Linked DNA regions of Homo sapiens: region 1 is linked to region 2. The links are contacts of gene promoters, found by promoter capture Hi-C in blood cells and fetal thymus (Javierre and others, 2016). All regions are on one chromosome and are shown on one strand. Each heading gives the region's core, a stretch centred on a gene start or on the middle of the fragment in contact. The rest is flanking DNA. Distances are from core to core; before and after follow the strand shown. Region 1 has its middle 41 kb from the start of AKR1E2. Region 2 holds the start of AKR1C4 (aldo-keto reductase family 1 member C4).

Evidence for each region. Contacts are between HindIII fragments. The CHiCAGO score rates a contact against its expected background, and 5 or more counts as called.
Region 1: a fragment that was not itself captured here is called in contact with the fragment with the promoter of AKR1C4 in region 2 in 1 of 17 cell types (M2 macrophages); the score reaches 5.3 in M2 macrophages.

The regions. Positions count from the first base shown.
Region 1 is chr10:4,865,859-4,868,915 of GRCh38, reverse strand. It overlaps a transcript of AKR1E2 not described here. Among named protein-coding and RNA genes, the nearest start is that of AKR1E2, 41 kb to the right of the region's middle. RefSeq lists an enhancer at 985-1,279 and a cis regulatory region at 1,962-2,237. The HindIII fragment of the contact is 3,641 bases long and covers 1-3,057 here.
Region 2 is chr10:5,195,285-5,198,258 of GRCh38, reverse strand. AKR1C4 (aldo-keto reductase family 1 member C4) reads right to left here and starts at 1,422. Exons shown (of 9, transcript NM_001818.5): 1 at 1,308-1,422. The coding sequence starts at 1,391. The HindIII fragment of the contact is 18,750 bases long and covers 271-2,974 here.

The DNA.
Region 1 (3,057 bases), core at 49-2,548, 330 kb after region 2:
ATAAAAAGAATTATACACAAAAACCAAGTATAGCTTATATCAAGGATACAGGGCTGGTTCAATGTTCAAAAATCAGTTAATATAATCCATCATACTAAAAAACTAAAGAAGAAAGTCACATGATCATATCAATTGATGCAGTGAAAGCATTTGACAAAATTTAACATCCATCCATAATTAAAACTTTCAGAAAATAGGACTACAGGATAACTTTCTAAACTTGATAAAGAACATCTGCAATAACCTACAGCTAAGCTGAATTCTTTGTCCCTAAGACTGGGAAAAAAGCAAGGATGTCCACTCTCAGCACTCTTTTTAAACACAGTGCTAAAAGTTTTAGCCAATACAGTAAGACAAGAAAAGTAGATAAAAGGCATACATATCACAAGAAAGAAAACTGTTTCCATTTGCAGGTGACGTGATTGACTACATAGAAAATTCCACGGGCTTATGTCAGCAAGATAACTGACTAGAGGTTCCTACACTTCTCCCCACCCACAAAAACAGACCAAAGCGATGAAGAAACAACTACATTTTGACCAGAGCAACTAAAGGAGAGCTGTAGAGTCTTTAGATAATGGATGAGAGAAACTCTGTGGAGCAAAGAGACTCAGGATGGCCATATAGAGAAAGGAATAAAACACGCTGCCTCTGCCACTCTGTCATCCAGTCAGGATCAGCTCAGAACCAGGAAGAACTTCTCTCTGTGGGAAAAAAGTAAGCAACAGGAACCCAGAAGCTGGCATTGCCACCACAGACTGCTGTAGTCTTTGATAGTGGAGAATCTTACAGTATTTACAGGCCTGACCCCAGTTTAGGAAGCTGCCTGGAGTTTATACAGCTGCATTACTCCATAGAAAGAGCCCACATTATTTCCCAAACCCCCAACGATCCAGTCTCCTACTAAGCTGCACCATCTTAAAACTGGAGCCATTATTAGAGTGTGCCTGCTCTGGGGGCAGTATATATATCACAGTGAGGTTTCAAGAGTCACCAAAATAGGAAAGCTGCAAACTTGAAATGCTCCAAGGTTTTCGTTACAAAGATAAGAAAGACGGACCCTGAGGACGCTGCCTCTCGCTTTGACAAAGCCCAGACAATGAGTCACATCAAGTAACACATGGCTTGGAAAAGGAAGGAAAAACACTGGAAGGCCAACGCTGTTCTTATCACTGCTACACAGAGCTGAAAGCAATGTTAGAACTGTGGGTTAAAAAGAAACTAGTCAAGTTCTTCAACGGATGAATGGCGTTATCTTTGCCATGCAATCCTACTCAGCAATGAAAATAAACTGACTATTGGCACATCCAACACCTTGGCTGAATGGCAAGGTAATTGTGGTGACAGAGGAATGCCAGTCCAAAAAAGTTACATAGTGTGTAATTCCACTTATACTGAATTTGTAAAATAACAAAATTATAGGAATGAAGAACATACTAGTTGCCAGGGGTTAAGGAGGCAGCAGAGGCAGAAGACAGCTGAATGCAATTAGAAAATGGTGACAGGGAGGGCCCTCATGGTGACGGAAATGTTTTGTACCTTGACTGTGGAGATGGAAACGTGAATGTGTGAAAAATTGTACAACAGTGAACACACACACAGACACCAAGGAATGCAACCAAAACTGGAGAAGTCTAAGACAATATCAATATCAGTATCTTGGTTGTGAATCCACCTTTGCAAAATTATGACTGAGACAGTGAAAGAGATCTAACTTAACTGACTCCATCTTGCTTCTAACCTCCAAGTTGTCCTTGTTCATTCCTGATGGTAGGTTGAACTAACTTTGGGAGTAACTTAGTTTATAGTTTAAACAAAGATGGTAACAGCCCTTTCCCACAGCAGACCTCCTTCTTGCCTGGGGACTAGATTTGCCTTTGTAGGATTAACATTAGCCACAAGATTAGAAATTATGGTTGAGGAGTCATGCAGCTGGAGGCTACAAGATTCTGACCCTCCGTAAACTGCTCCTAAGTGCCTGGGTATTTTGCAGATCCTGCACTTGATGGATCAGCCGGCCCCACTCAGATCAGTAAACTGACTCATCTGATATTGTGGCCCCCACCCAGGAAATGACCGAGCACAAGAAGGCAGCTTTGACTCCCTGTGATTTCATCTCTAACTACTCAGCACTCCTGGCTCACTGGCTTCCCCCCACCCGCCAAGTTATCCTTAAAATCTCTGCTCCCGGAGCCTGCAGTGAGCCGAGATGGCGCCACTGCACTCCAGCCTGGGCGACAGCGAGACTCCATCTCAAAAAAAAAAAAAAACAAAAACAAAAACAAAACTCTGCTCCCTGAATGCTCCGAGAGACTGATTTGAGTAATAATAAAACACCGGTCTCCTGCACAGCTGGCTCTGCGTGAATTACTCATTCTCTATTGCAATTTCCCTGTCTTGATGAATTGGCTCTGCCTAGGCAGCAAGCAAGGTGAACCCCTTGGGCAGCTACATTTGTGATAACTTACTATATAGGTTTGCAAGATGGTAATATTCAGGGAATCTGAATAAAGGGCAGACTCTGAATTATTTTTTGCAACTTCCTGTGTATCTATAATCATCTCAAAATGCAGTTTAATTTAAAAGAAAACCAGAAAACTGGTTCCAGTGCTACGCGTCCTCTCTTTGGATTCTTTTCTAGTCCACCGTCAAAAGAATGTGGATGTGGCTCTAGATTTAACCCCTCCTACCTTTTATTATGTAATTCAAACATAAAATCTGTCTCAGAGCACAGGAAGGAGGAAGTGGAAATGATAAAGAGGATCACTTTGCTGAAATATAATCAGACCTATTTAGCCTGGACAGTGAAAAACAATGGCCCAATATACATGCTGTTCTCTGAAACTGAATGACAGAAACTTCACGTCTGTCCTGGGATTTGGTACTGCTAGTTACAAAACAGTAAGAATTCAGTAAGTTTGAGAGAGAAGGAGATTGACCAAAAGAACCCTAGGGGAAAACAATCCTTTCTAGAAATTGTTTTCAACATAAAATTTAAATTTTCCCCCAGAATTCCAAATGAATAATGATGAATACAATTTTTCTTTAGCAACATAA
Region 2 (2,974 bases), core at 173-2,672:
TGACAGAACTAAATACTAGGAGTAAAGACATACATTCCAAGGATGTAGATTTATACCTAAGAAATTAACTGCGACCTGTGAGAGATTAGTAAGGTACGCTTTATCCCTAAAAAATAAGACCAACTCTTTTAGAAACGATATAATTTCAGTGAAATTTAAAATTATTGACTTATCTACCAAATTTGGATAAAGATTTGAAAGGTATATTTTTTAAATGACAAAACCGTAAATGAAACAATTTTCTATTTTAATATAAGCTTTTCTGAAGCTTTCTTTTTCTAGTGAAATTAAAAGGAACTAGATGCCAGGTTGCACTACCTTCCCCTGATGCCAACCCTGATCCTCTGTTTGCTGTGCAGGCACTCAAGGTTTACCAAGGCTAGAGCTTCCGTGTTGTGCTTTTCCTTACTTCTCCTTCATGCCAATTTGCATTACAAAGTGAACCACTCCTGTCGATGGTCTTCAAGGTGTTTCTCTGTAAATTCTTACAACGTATAGTTGATCAAATTTAGACAAAAATTTTATGTGACTACTCCTTATTAACACACTTAGTAGTCTTGGAATACAAGTTTTCTTCCAGTGTAGAAATAGCTCAGTCTAGAAAAAATGTCTCCATTTTGCCCACTTCCGTGTCAGAGGGCCACCCCTATCATTTTGATACAAATCTGATGCATATTAACACGGACCAAAAATTTAAAATTTTTCTTGTGAGGTTCTAGGTTTTCCTTAGAATAAAGTTATTTTTCCTTTCAGATAATTTTCCTAGAGGTGAGAGTTGTGCAGGGCATTGTATTAAGTCCAGGACCAGTATTACTGTGTCATGCTCAAGACCACGCGGCAGCTCAGCAGTACTCTCCCAACAGTTTTCATACACCCCATCTTTAGGTGCTGTTACCACAAATGTTTCTTTTGATCACGTCTAGTAGAAGAATAAAAGATTTCTTCAACCACAGAAATAAATGGAGAAACCATTCTCACTGCAGTCATCTCCTAGAAAGGGAACTGCCAGGCAGTGTTCTTCACTGTTGAGTTTTATATATTCTGCCAAGCTGGGCAATACACAGAAACAGCATATAAAAACAGTGTATAAAATAAAAATAAGCAGTAAATTACCATATGACAGACCTCAGTGCAAAACAAACATTGACTACCTTTTCTCTTTGAACATAGAATAGCTCTAGCCCAGTAAGACAGACCACGTGAGTCACTCAGGGTAACAGAAACACAAAGCTGAACAACCCAGGTCATCGTTCACTTATTCTAGCTTTGCTCTTTTAAATGCTCAATGCTGAAAATGTGATTATTACCTCTGGAGGTGCATAGGTGCCAAATCCCAATACGGGCATGAAGTGACCATCATTTAGCTCTACACGCTGATATTTGGGATCCATTGCTTGCCACTTCTTTCACTAAGCAGATCCTGTTTCCTTCAGCAACATCTGGCATTTATATTCAGGGGTTATGTAAAACATGGGCAGGCAGTGCTGCACTGCTCCCTGGGGCTAATCAATGGCATGTAGGAGGAAGCAAGTGATGGTGTATTACACAGGCTGTGAGGAAAATTGAATCCAGTTCACTCGTTTCTTATCAAAGAGAATTTTTACATACATTATTATATAGTCAAAATATTTTTTTCTAAAGTGAAATTTTCTATTCAGAATCAATCAATCTCTCTCTCTGTCTGTCTGATAAACTCATCCAACAGGTTTATAGAATGATTGGTGATCATGTTAGACTATAAAATACCTCCAGCTACAAATCTTGTTTTTGTTCATGCCATGATGATATCCCATCTTTATCTTCTGTCATTTGAAATAATCAACCATCTTACATCTTTCTCTCAGACAGTATTCAAAAGAATGACCAGTGAGCATTTTTTTTTAGTGGTGACCCTCAATAAAGAAATTAAACAAAACCAAAGAAAATTTCTCTTTTTACGTTTTTCACCAACAAATTAATTTTGTTTCTTCTTTAATTGTAGTAGGAATATTCATTCCTGATGAAGGTGTGGTCCTGATGATGTGGCAATCCTGCAAAGGTTCAAAGGGAAAAGAAAACAGAAATTCTGACATGATGTTTATTGGAGTATTAATTATTAACAATGTTTGGACTTTGGACATCATTTGCAACATGCAAACAGTTCTTTAATAGTGTTTGTATCTTCCATCAGTTTTATAAGAAACCAGCAAAAGTAACTTCCCAAAAAGCTGATAACTATTTTATATAATTTGTGATCTTATTAAATGTTATAAAGAAAAAAGTAATTAAAATAAATTGGTGAATAATCCTCACATGGCATAATTTTACTTGTTTCTCCCATTGGAGGGCAGACTAGAACACGATGATTAGGCCGGGGGCAGTGGCTCACGCCTGTAACCCCAGCACTTTGGAAGGCCAAGGCGGTAGGTTTACTTGAGGTCAGGAGTTTGAGACCAATCAAGTGAAATCTTGTCTCTACGAAAAATACAAAAATTAGTCTGGAGTGGTAGTGGATACCTGTAATCCCAGTTACTCAGGAGGCTGAGGCAAGACAATTGCTTAAACTCAGGAGGCAGAGGTTGCAGTGAGCCAAGATTGGGTCACTGCACTCCAGCCTGGGCGACAGAGCAAGACTGTCTCAAAAAAAAAAAAAAAAACAAAAAACAAAAAACGAAGATGATTAACATCTGTGAAGAATCCATACCAATATCTGTTGTTGTCTGACATTTTAAGAATAGCCATTCTGACTGGTGTAAGATGATATCTCTATGTGCTTTTGATTTGCAACACCCTCTTTTCTTCTATTCACTTCTTCCTAAAAGGAACAATAAAAGAAAATAATTAGGTAAATTACTATACATTGAAGCAATGGAATATAATAGAGCCATTTAAAAATTTTCACACAGAGTGTCATCAGCAGGATGGTAGATTAGAAAGCTCTCAAATCTCCCATGGAATTATCAAAAAACAATCTGAAATGAACTAAAATAAACTC